4 separate regions of the Homo sapiens genome follow, and regions 2, 3 and 4 are each linked to region 1. Evidence: promoter capture Hi-C in 16 types of primary human blood cells and fetal thymus (Javierre and others, 2016). All regions are on one chromosome and are shown on one strand. Each heading gives the region's core, a stretch centred on a gene start or on the middle of the fragment in contact. The rest is flanking DNA. Distances are from core to core; before and after follow the strand shown.

The links. Contacts are between HindIII fragments. The CHiCAGO score rates a contact against its expected background, and 5 or more counts as called.
Region 2: a contact is called between a fragment that was not itself captured here and the fragment with the promoter of MCF2L2 in region 1, in 1 of 17 cell types (M1 macrophages). The highest score is 5.6, in M1 macrophages.
Region 3: a contact is called between the fragment with the promoter of B3GNT5 here and the fragment with the promoter of MCF2L2 in region 1, in 2 of 17 cell types (M1 macrophages and endothelial precursors). The highest score is 5.4, in M1 macrophages.
Region 4: a fragment that was not itself captured here is called in contact with the fragment with the promoter of MCF2L2 in region 1 in 1 of 17 cell types (M2 macrophages); the score reaches 5.5 in M2 macrophages.

Annotation. Positions count from the first base shown.
Region 1 is chr3:183,427,130-183,430,037 of GRCh38, reverse strand. It overlaps MCF2L2 (MCF.2 cell line derived transforming sequence-like 2), which reads left to right and starts at 1,419. Exons shown (of 30, transcript NM_015078.4): 1 at 1,419-2,136. The coding sequence starts at 2,061. RefSeq lists a silencer at 1,590-1,669. The HindIII fragment of the contact is 2,747 bases long and covers 1-2,148 here.
Region 2 is chr3:183,603,369-183,606,276 of GRCh38, reverse strand. No RefSeq gene overlaps it. Among named protein-coding and RNA genes, the nearest start is that of KLHL24, 31 kb to the left of the region's middle. The HindIII fragment of the contact is 572 bases long and covers 1,071-1,642 here.
Region 3 is chr3:183,251,701-183,254,608 of GRCh38, reverse strand. B3GNT5 (UDP-GlcNAc:betaGal beta-1,3-N-acetylglucosaminyltransferase 5) reads right to left here and starts at 1,356. Exons shown (of 2, transcript NM_032047.5): 1 at 1,137-1,356. The region is part of intron 15 of MCF2L2 (MCF.2 cell line derived transforming sequence-like 2); the gene reads left to right. It overlaps LOC124906310 (a long non-coding RNA gene), which reads right to left. Exons shown (of 3, transcript XR_007096189.1): 3 at 2,054-2,074. The HindIII fragment of the contact is 12,746 bases long and covers 1-1,878 here.
Region 4 is chr3:183,583,861-183,586,768 of GRCh38, reverse strand. No RefSeq gene overlaps it. Among named protein-coding and RNA genes, the nearest start is that of KLHL6, 30 kb to the right of the region's middle. The HindIII fragment of the contact is 4,302 bases long and covers 1-2,908 here.

The DNA.
Region 1 (2,908 bases), core at 170-2,669:
ATTACAGGCGTGGGCCACTACGCCCGGCCTTTTAACCCTTTTTTGAATCTCTTGCAAAAGGTGGTTGTGAAAATGGTTGCTCAGTGGCCGGGCATGATCACTTGAGTCCATGTGTTTGAGACCAGCCTGGGCAATATGGTGAAACTCCATCTCTAAAAACGAAAAAAAAAAAAAAGAAAGAAAAGAAAAAGAAAATCCTTGCTCTGTTTTGCAGGCAGAGTGCAAAGTGCCCAAACTTCACAGGGGGAAGAACCTCTCCACAAATCTCATGACACAGGTGAACTGACCTCGCTTCTCAATCACAGCCCACAATTGTTAGAGAAAGCATTAAAAAGGGCTGGGCGCGGTGGCTCACGCCTGTAATCCCAGCACTTTGGGAGGCCAAGGTGGGCGGATCACGAGGTCAGGAGATCGAGACCATCCTTGGCTAACACGGTGAAACAAACCCCATCTCTACTAAAAAATACAAAAAATTAGCCGGGCGTGGTGGCGGGCGCCTGTAGTCCCAGCTACTCGGGAGGCTGAGGCAGGAGAATGGCGTGAACCCGGGAGGCGGAGCTTGCAGTGAGCTGAGATCGCGCCATTGCACTCCAGCCTGGGCGACAGAGCCAGACTCAGTCTCCAAAAAAAAGAAGAAAAGAGAAAGCATTAAAAAAATACCCTCAGCCCCCTGTGATGGGTGGCTACTCCTAGAATTTGGATCCAGGGTGTTTGCGGCTTGGCTTTTTACATATCGAAGAGGAAAGAGATGGCTGAGAACATCCGCCTGGGTGGTCCCGCCATTCCGCCTGCTGAGTATTCAGGGACTCCCGCTGTAGAAAGGATTGGGGGACAACCTGACCGAATTCGCATTTGCTCAGGCGTTTCCCGTAGCGCTCTGCTGAACTGGGGTTAGTCTTTTGCTGCCAGTCAGAAAGTGTCTGGGCCCAACTAGGGAAACCACGGGATAATGGGCTGATGGGGAGGAGGACCAGCATGGAGGATGTGCCACAGCCCCTCCAGAAGGTAGCACTGGCGTGCCTGACAGGTGACAGACGGAGCAGAGGCAAGGGCGCAGCTGCACGAAGGAAAACGCCCACATAGGGGGTGAGCGCGCCCACGCGTGCTCAGCCTTGTCGGAGCGCAGCCCGGGCGCCGGGCTCCCAGTGCAGGTGTGGCCAGCGGAGGTCAAGAACTGCGTGGAACAACCCCAAGTGGGGGAAAACACACGCCAGCCGCCCCCGGGGTCAGGAGGTGGGGCAAGCAGCGGCGCCTCACCCAGCCTCCCGCTCCGGGTCCTGCCGGATGGCGGCAGCTCTCCGGGCCAGCCCCCTTCTCTCCGCGGCTCCTCCGCAGACACCCGGCGCGGAAGAAGGAGGGGCGGAGACCTGGCCGGCGCGCGTCTGATGATCCGGACCCCGGTGCGACTGGAGCGCCTCAGTCACTGTCTCCCCGCCCCACGGTTCCGAGTAAGGACCGGAGCTCCACTCCGGGGGTGGAGCGCGGGCTCCCCGCAGGGAAAGGTGCGCAGCGTTCCCGACCCCAAAACGAGCGGCGCTTGGGAGCGTGCGTGCCTCCCCGAGAGCCCCGGGCGCCACCCGTGGGCTGGACGAGGTGGGCGCTGGGGCGTGGGGCCGGCGGCGCAGAGAAGCCACGGCCACCTGCCGCCTCCCCTGCACCTGGCGGAGCATCCCTCACTCTACAGTCCCTGGAGGCGGCGCCGGAAACCTGGCGGCCGGGACCGCGATTCTGGAAGCCCCGGAGCTCGCCCGGCCGGAGGAGCCGGGGCGCGGTTCCGGCGAGATTGGCGACTTGCTTCCTTTTGCAGAACGGCCGCTCCTCTCTCGGTCCAGCTGCGACGCTGGGAAAGCGCCAGACTTGGTCTGTCACGGGAGCCCCCGCGGGGCGTGGCGAGGGAGAGCTGGCCTAGGCTGCGAGGGACTCTCGTTTCTTGCCTGGAGAGCCAGGAAGAGGGCGAGGGCAGAGCATCCTTGGGCGGAGATGCCTTTAAAAAATCATCCACCGCAGCGGTAGAAACAGTTTTGTTTGGCTTTATTTATACGGAATGGTTTTTCAGTGAAATGCTGTCTTGCTTAAAAGAAGAGATGCCTCCCCAGGAGCTCACCCGGCGACTGGCCACAGTGATCACTCATGTCGGTAAACGAAGCTTTAATTTTTCCTGCGTTTTATTAATGGCGGGTGAGGATGGTCTCTGGGCTTCATCTGGCTCCTGGCCTCACCCGCTGCCCCGGGGCAGCGCGCTTCCTGGGGGGTTGCCCGGCATCTGGGCCTCGCTGCTCTGGGTCCTGCCTGCGGTGCCCAGCGGGGGGCATCCCTGGGGCGCGCCGCTGGTGGGGGTCGGGGGGCCGAGGCTGGTGCCTTCACCAGGTGGTTGCCGAGTCCGTTGAGCTCCAAACCGAGGGCTGCTGGGCTGTTACCATCCGTTAGCTGCTTCTGACGGGAGTAGGGTGGGTGGGAAGTTATGTTCTGGTTTTGGGGATAGTGAGAAAGGAGAGGGCATAAGAGGAACGAATGCCAGTGCTTTTCAGCAGAAATGATTGCCACGCCACTGAAGGCTTGTTTATAAGAAAGTGCAGGGAGAGGCAGGTTACATGGGAGCGCCCCTGCGCAGCTCGGCCGCTAGGCCTGTTTTACTGTGCTGCCTGGAGGGTTAAGCACACCCCTGATGATCCCCGCGAGAAATCTCTGCAAGCCAAGGAGACTGAGCAATTTTAATCTTCTTCCCTGAGTTGAAAAGAGGAGCAAAACATGCATTGCTTGCTCCTGAAATAAGGGTTGTGATGGAACGTCAGGCCCCACAGACTAAGTAAGGGCAAGAGGACATTGAGACAGTTCCCAGTCAGTTTTTTCTTAGCACTTTCTTCCCCTTGGCCTTCCCTGGACCTCCCTCAGTAAAGACACACATTCA
Region 2 (2,908 bases), core at 107-2,606, 180 kb before region 1:
TTACATTTGGAAAATTTGAGCAATATTTTTGTTTAATATTATTTCTGTCACTCCCCCACTTCTGCATCTTGTAATCCCATTATACCACTTTATATTGCCCTACAGGTCACTGAAACTCTGATCAGTTTTTTCAATCTTTTTTCTTTCTGTGCTTTTCTCTCTGGATAGTTTCTATTTCTATGCCTCCAAGTTCACTGATCTTTTCTTCTGTACTGCCTAAATTGTTGTTTAACCCTTTCAGTAATTTTTTTTTTTGAGACGGAGTCTTGCTCTGTCGCCCAGGTTGGAGTGCAGTGGCACGATCTCGGCTCACTGCAAGCTCTGCCTCCCGGGTTCACGCCATTCTCCTGCCTCAGCCTCCCGAGTAGCTGGGACTACAGGCGCCTGCCACCAGGCCCGGCTAACTTTTTGTATTTTTAGTAGAGACGGGGTTTCACCGTGTTAGCCAGGATGGTGTCGCTCTCCTGACCTCGTGATCTGCCCGCCTCGGCCTCCCAAAGTGCTGGGATTACAGGCATGAGCGACCGCAGCCGGCCAAATTTTGTATTTCAAACATTATATTTTCATCTCTGGGATTTCCATTTGGCGCTTATCTATATCTCCCATTTCTCTCTGCATTACATTCATTTTTCTTTTAAATACTTGAACATAGCTACAATAGTTGTTTTTGCTTTTGGGTTTTTTTTTGTTTTTTTTTTTTTTTGTTTTTTTTGCTAATTTCATTACCTCTGTCATTTCTGAATTTGATTTTTCTTCTAGTCATGGATCACTTCTTAAAATTAAAAAAAAAACTTCTTTGTATGTCTTGTAATTGTATTTTAGGACAGGGTCTTGCTATGTTGTCTAGGCTAGATTAGAACTCCCAGCTCAAGCAACCTTCCAGCTTCAGCCTCCTAAGTAGCTGGGAACAGGTGCACACAACCATTCTTGCCTACTCTGGTGATTTTTGATTGGATGCTGGACATTTCAACATTTGTTGAGTGCTCAATTTTGCTTTTTTCCTTTTAAATATGTTAGACTTTATTCTGGCAGACAATTTATTAGAAAATCAGTTTGATCTGTCTGAAGCTTGTTTTTAAGTTTTGTTATTGTAGGTCTAGAGTATCCTTTACTCTGGGACTAGGGTAGTCCTACAAGCAAGGTGTGGTGCTTCTGGGGTCTTTACTGAATGCCCCAGGTGCTTAATACAGTTTCTTCTTTCTGGCTGATCAGAACTCAAATGTCTCCTAGGTCTGGGTGAACTCTGGGAATTTTTCAGCTTGCAGCTACTGGTAATAACTTCCCAGGATTTTTGTGAGGATTAAATTAAATAATGCATATGAAGAGTATTGCAGGGGATTATGATTATGAAGAGATACATAAGGGGCTTCTGGGGTGCTGGCAATATATTTTTTGATCTGGGTGGTGGTTACATGTATGTTCACTTTATAACTATTTGTTAAACTGAATTTTTTATGTGTATGTTATACATCACAATAAAAATCAAAAGAAAACAAAGAATATAACATACTGCTGGCATATAGTAGATGCTCAATAAATGTAGCCAGCCTGATTACATGAGATAAGAGATGTAAAATAGCTGGCACAGAATCCAGCACACAGGGTTGGGGGAGAATCCTGGATAATTTCCTGTAAGTAAGCTTTTTATGGAAGTATAACCTAATAAAGAGAAATAAACAGAGCATAAGCACATAGCTCCATACATTTTTCCAAAACAGAACACACCCAAGTAACCAGTGACCAGGTCAAGAAATAGAACTTAATTGGTTCTTAATTGTTAATGTAAAACAATATGGAATGGGATTTTCCTGATGTCTCATAATTTTGGTTAAATTCTCAAAGCTGATAAGAATTCCTCTTTATTTCTAAAGAATGATTTTAGATATCCCCTCAAGGTTGTCTAAAAAATGGCAGAACTGGTCCTGTGACTGTCAGCCTCTGTCATCCACCTTCAGCCTCATAGAAGCCTAGGAGTTCTAAGGGTGCAAGAAGCATAGAAGCCTAGGAGTTCTAAGGGTGCAAGAAGCATAGAAGTCTAGGAGTTCTAAGCAAGCAATCTTACAGATAACAGATTGCTTGCCTAGGAGCAGGGTAGGAGATGTGCTCAAGTGATGGGCTGAGAAGGAATCACAGCCCCTGTGTTTCCATGGAGCCAGGGCTGAAAGCTAAGAGAGTTCTTGGGAAGCCTGACATGCAGACTTTGGAGTTTATGGGGTTGGGGAGGTGTTGTGGTTGAATGGTGTGGTGTTGGAGTTAGTTATACTAAACACAGAGGCCAATGTTTGCTTCCTACCTAGAAAACCATTAAGGCAAGAGGAAGGCTAGAGAAGACCATGATGGCATGGTAAGGAGTGAGAGCCACTGTTTGGTGGGGCAAAGTTATATGAATTTCCTGGCAGAGTGAACTCTGCAACAGGCAGTGAGATTTCAGCTCCCTCGACGGGGACCTCTGTCATAGGGCATCCATCTTCTTGAATTCTTTTTTTTTGAGATGGAGTCTTGTTCTGTCACCCAGGCTGGAGTGCAGTGGCGCCATCTTGGCTCACTGCAACCTCTGCCTCCTGGATTCAAGCAGTTCTCCTGCCTCAGCCTCCGGAGTAGCTGGGACTACAGGCACGCGCCACCACCCGCGCCACCACTCCCAGCTGATTTTTGTATTTTTAGTAGAGACGGGGTTTCACCATGTTGGCCAGGATGGTTTCGATCTCTTGACCTCGTGATCCCCCCGCCTCAGCCTCCCAAGGTGCTGGGATTACAGGCGTGAGCCACGCACGCCCAGCTGATCTTCTTCAGTGTTGATCCCCTAGCCACAGATCAGGCCTGAGGTGAGGGGGATTGGATGTGAGTTTTTTGTTTACATTGGAGTAGAATTTTAAAAACATCCCCAAATGAGGCTATTCATACAACC
Region 3 (2,908 bases), core at 107-2,606, 180 kb after region 1:
GCACGGGCCTGTCCCGCCACCGAGGAGCCGGAGCTCCTCAGGGACGGGGACCCGCAGGCCCCGGGAAGCCGCCCCAACCGGAGCTGCCCGGCCCCCGAGCCTACCTGCCGCACCTGGGCGGCGGCCCGGCCTGGGTCCCAGCCGCTGGCCACCCGCGCGGGCAGGCCGGAGGGAACAAAGGCGTTCCGGGGAGGGGACGAGCCTCCTTCTCCGCCGCGCTTTCAGAGGGCGGGCTGCCGGGGCCCGCGGTGGGAGAGGCCTCCCCGGCTTCCCGACTTCCCGGCGCTGGGCCGTGCGCGGTCCGGGCCAGGGCGGCGGGCCCCGATCCGGTGTCCACGCCAGCCACGCGCCCCCGGCCCAAGCGCGCGTTCCCACCTGAAGTCCTGGCGCCACCCGCCGGGCGAGGGCCGGCGTGCCCTCACCTCCTCGCCACTCTTCTCCTCCAGAGACCTCGCTCGGCCCGGAGTGGGCAGACTCGGAGCCTCCCGCGCCGGAGACCGCGAGCCGCTCGGCCGAGGAGGCGCGGCGGGGCGGGGGCGGGGCGGAGGGGCCGGCCCGCAGCCCCCAATGCCGGGAGCCCGCGCTGGAGACCCAGGGAGCCCAGCTCGGGGCCGCGGCACGGAGAACGAACCATCCGTGGCCTGGAGACGTATCCCGCCGAGCGGCCAGAACTTTCCCCATTTAGCGATCCGGAAAGGAAGCCAACACTCCCACCCAGAGAGGCCTCGGCCGCGGAAAGATGCGGCCGCGGCACAGCCGTGTTTTCACCACGTAACTGACCACAGACTAACTCCGCGCGGAACCACCGGCCCAGGGCGCTCCGCCAAGAGGCGGACTGTGCTGGCCTCGCGGGCCCTACGCCCAGGGAACGCCGCGGTTCCTCCCACACGGGACACCGGTTCCGCAGCGCCGCGGATTAGGATGGTCTTTTACTTTCCGAGCGGGAGCTCTAACGCAGGCTCAGGCGGGTCTTGTTAAAAGGTTTCTGGTCACACCACTTATGCGTGGAGCTCTGGGGGCCTCAGTAACAAAGTAAGGAAACTTACAGCAAACTAGGGCTGCACTGCCGCTGTCCGTTTCTAAAATACGAGAAGAGGGGGAAACCCCGCCCCAGGCCAGCTTCCCAGTGACTTTACCTCCAAGTCCAGCTTCATTTCAAGGGCAGTTTAGAGCGAAACTCACGAAGTTCAAGCCCAGCTCTTTAAATGTCCAAATCGGAGGTCGGCTTTCCTTCCCGCATCGGAGCTAAAGTCGCTGGTCTCAAGAACAAAACTTGCGGGCTTTAAATCTTGGGCGAGGACTGGACGGGCAGCGCTGGACTGGGCTCGCTTCCCCGGCGGGATGCGGGCTGTATGCGGGCGGGATGGGGGCGGGCCCGGGCGGGGGCGCGAGGCTCCCAGCCGCGCGCCCCGCACTCTCGGCGTCACGGCCCGAGCCCGGCCCCGCCCGCCAGCCGCCACCCTCCCGGCGCGTAGGTGAAGGTGATGGGCCCCGCCCCAGTTTGTTCTTGTCTGTAGATGAGAATTCCAGGAAGTGTTTCCCTGCCGCTCGTCAGTTAATTGCGATCACTTACTCAAATGGCCAACTGGAAGCCAGAGTGCACATGAATGTCCTCTTTGAGCTATTTTCCTCCTTTAGAATACTTCATGCAGGTAACCAGACAATATCGAGAGATGCGGACTTCTACTCAACGAGAGAGATTATAAATGAATCCTGGATGCGCTTGATTTCTTGTTTCCCGCATGTTGTTAGACCTCTCCCTAAAGCCACAAAACATTTAACGGAGATAATATTTTGAGCGATTCTGTTATTGTACATATTTCAGAACATGACAGAAAAGCAAAAGATTAACCCAAATACTTTAGTAAAATAAAAGCTTTGAGTTTGTCGTAAAAGGAACAAGACAGGTAATGAGTTAAATGTATGATTGTCGAATCAGGGTTTAAAACAGTGGGGCCAGCAGACACGGTGGCTCACACCTGTAATCCCATCACTTTGGGAGGCTGAGCCGCAGGAGGATTGCTTGATCCCAGGAGTTAGAGACCAGCGTGGCCAACATAGCAAGACCCCATCTCTAAAAGAAAAAACACACACACAAAATGAAAACTGTTGTTCATTCAAACTAGATTTTTAGGAAGTTTTTAAATTGCTTTCCTTAAGCTGGTCAGCATCTTTTAAATCATGCAGTTCTTTTCATATGCTGCCTACACAGGGCATGGCTCAGCATCTCCCAGACTGTGGCACTGCATGTTCATCAGACCACAGACAGAAATATTTACATGTGTGATTTGCAAAGGAGTCATTGACAGTGACCCACAAATAAGCTGATTCATTGTTAATACAGCACTAATGACATACCTTCTCTAATAAAATGCTGACTGAAATCCCACATGCATTTCCCCCAGCCATCACATGTGTATGTTGTATATCTGTGCAAATATTCAATTACAATTATATTCCTTTCAGATCATTTGGAGCTAGGTCCATGTGTCAGTATACATATGTTCCACATACATGAGCACATAGAACTGTACCCACGAGAAATACAAACTGACCAAAACAGTGGTAGACACACATACAAATCACATATTCACATCATACTAGATACAGATAAACACACCAGATAGATAAATGGTTTCAAAAGTATGTCTGGAGATTGGAAATACGATGCAAGTTTTTTGGTGGTAGGAGGGAGAGATGAGAGGGTGTGAAGGAGAGATAGGCAAGGTCAAGTAGTCCAGAATGCCCACTCTGGGATCCACACAAGCTCAGATCACACATGCGAGAGGACAGGCAAGTCCCCTTTGCTTGTTAGGGAAGATTTCCTAGAGCAGCCTGGCTTCCTGTCCCACCCAGAGAGAGGGGAAGAGAATGACAGATTTGATGGTATTGATGGTGCTATGCTCAG
Region 4 (2,908 bases), core at 288-2,787, 160 kb before region 1:
AGTATCCTCTGGAGGAACTATGTAGACTGAGTTAGATGAGCCCAGAGTGAAACCATAAGACCTTTAAAGCTCGTTCCGAGGAGAGGATGTTGCTTGAAGGTGTGGTTTCCTCCAACTGAGTGAGCCGCCGCCCTACACCACTGTGTTACCTGGGAAGAGAAGGATAGGAGAATGTTCAGGGCCAGGGGACACTAGATGTTAACAGAAATTCATTTCGTTTTCTTTTGAGTTAGAAGATGAAAGATAAGAAAACTTCTCAAGGCTTGGGCAGCCCCTCTCCAAGAAAATCCTGCTAGAATGGCAAGAAGGGCAATACTTTAAGCATTCCACCCTTTGATGGCCATACAGAGTGACAATCCCTTCCATGCAGAGGGCACAGGTGGACACCTCCCTCCTTGCAATCAGAGCATGTACCTACACTGGAGCCCTCAAGACCTCCTAAGGCTGAAAAATGTCTCGTGCACACCCAACTAATAGAAGATCCACGGTGTCTTGGGTGAGGTTCTGTGAGCCATAGAAACAATGAGAAATTTGGGGATATCATTGTGTATTTATTAATTTTTTATTTTTATTTATTTATTTGAGATGGAGTCTCGCTCTGTTGCCCAGGCTGGAGTGCAGTGGCACGATCTCAGCTCACTGCAAGCTCCGCCCCCCCAGGTTCACATCATTCTCCTGCCTCAGCCTCCTGAGTAGCTGGGACTACAGGTGCCCGCCACCATGCCCAGCTAATTTTTTTGTATTTTTCGTAGAGACAGTGTTTCTCCATGTTAGCCAGGATGGTCTCGATCTCCTGACCTCGTGATCTGCCTGCCTCAGCCTCCCAAAGTGCTGGGATTACGGGCGTGAGCCACCGCACCTGGCCCCATTGTGTGTTTATAACCCCCATCCCCTCCTCACAACCAAATTCAAACTGCAAATAGCAATAGACGCCAATGACTATTTGACCAACACGCTATGGTGGAAAACACATGGGCTTTGGGGGTCAGAGACACCTGGGCTCAAATTCCATCTCTGTCACGTATGGCTTAATGATCTTGGGAAATTTGCTTAACCTCTCTGAACCGTAATCTTCGTCTATGACAAAATTACCCTTTGCAAAGTTGTTTGGGTTCAGTGGTTTGATACATGGAAAGGACCCAACAAATAGTGGTATGATCGTTATGGTGGTAGATTTTTGGCTTACAACTCAGCATGCTAAAACACTTTATAGGCATGATAAAATGCAAAGTCTGTCTTACCTTTCTCCTCCTATCTCTATAAACCTTAGAGGATTTGAGCCTTGTAGAGAAACCAAATATTTTAAAACAAAAAGTTTATTTTCAAATGAATTTTGGTAAAGGTTGATATCCAATGTGTCCATTTGAGCTGGGTTTTTTTACTCAGCAGCAAGAATCCTAATACAGCATGTAACACAATTCTTGACCATAGCAGCAACTCTCTAACTGTTTAACTCTCAACTCTCTAACTGATTGCTGTTGTTATGACTGTTGCCCTTGGTCCATGAAGTCTATGAAGATTGTACCCCTAGCTTCACTGGGGCATTCCTGAAACTCACTGTCAGTATGGTTCTAGAGACAGTTTGATAAGTCCAACTGTCCTTAAACAAAATCTTTGCTATTGGTTCTATCCATAGAGTACACCTGTTTCTACTTCCCTCTCTTATTCACGAAGTCACCCATTGATCCATTCATCATGTCACAAGCTAGGAAAAAGAGCTTCCTGTTAGTTAAATTATCTGATAACAAGAGACACAGGGATTCCTCAGTATCTCCAAAACAGACTCCAGTCGAAGCCAATTGGGAGTGAGAGAGAGGATCTGGTGTTGGTGCTCTGTGAAGGAAGACTCGTTATGTCCCTACAGTTAAGAGTTTTCTTACCTTTGAACAGTGCTTAGATAGGCTGTTCCTGTCCTTTGTTGACAGCTAATGGTTTTTTACAGGCCTGAGCTGATTCATGTCCTGCCTGACCCTGACTCTCACATCAGCCTCCTGAACTCATCTGTACTTGGCCTAACTTTAATTATCTGGTAACAGCTGCTGCCTCCTTCTCTGGTGCAGCCCCAGTCTGGGCCTGGCTTCCAGCTGGCTTCCTGAGAGCAGGCCTCCAAGGGGCTGGAACATAGATTCTGCATGTCTTTGCAGAGGGGTATTTTCCCTGATAGCATATCCCCTTGGAGTGGCAGAGAGTTACTTTTCAGCAATCCTTGCCATTCACAGACGAGTTTTCTGCTATTTGAGCTCACTATTGCCAGAGATGGCCAGAGGAGCAGTGTTTATCACATAAGGAACGTGTCCTTGGATGCGGATCACCCTCGTCTGGCAGCAAACCAAAAACACCATTCATTCCGCCTCTTCTCAGAGCCACAGCTGGGACATTACAAACTGCATTAATATGCCAGAAAAATACCCCAGCAAAGGCTTCAGGGCAGGGAGCGACTGGGGTCAGCCCTATGGCATCAGTCAGCTCTCGGTCTCCAAGGCTGAGGCCTCTTCTTTCAGCAGCCTTATGGGTACAGTAATGCTGGGAAGGTGCTTCCATGGTGTTAAGAAGGTGGGACAAGGGACTCAGGAAGGAGTGCCCCTGGGCCTGGGACTGATGGTAGGTGGCCTGATGCCACTCTCAGGACTGGAGATAGTTCTACTTACAGGAGTGGAGCCAGGGTACAAGGATCACAGTCAGGTCAGATGGGGGAGGGCTGTTTGCTTGAAGCAGCCTGAGGCCATGTGGCCAGGGTGGAGAGCCAAAATCACCCCCCAAAACAAGCAGCGTAAACAGAATGAAAGAAAGTGTGAGGAATGGCCAAAGAGGCTGTTTCAAATGAAGGCTGTGGATAGCAAATCTGTGAGGGGGTTTCCTTCCCTGTGGGGCTGGTGTGACTCTGGAGGTGGGTGTGAGGGCTTAAAGT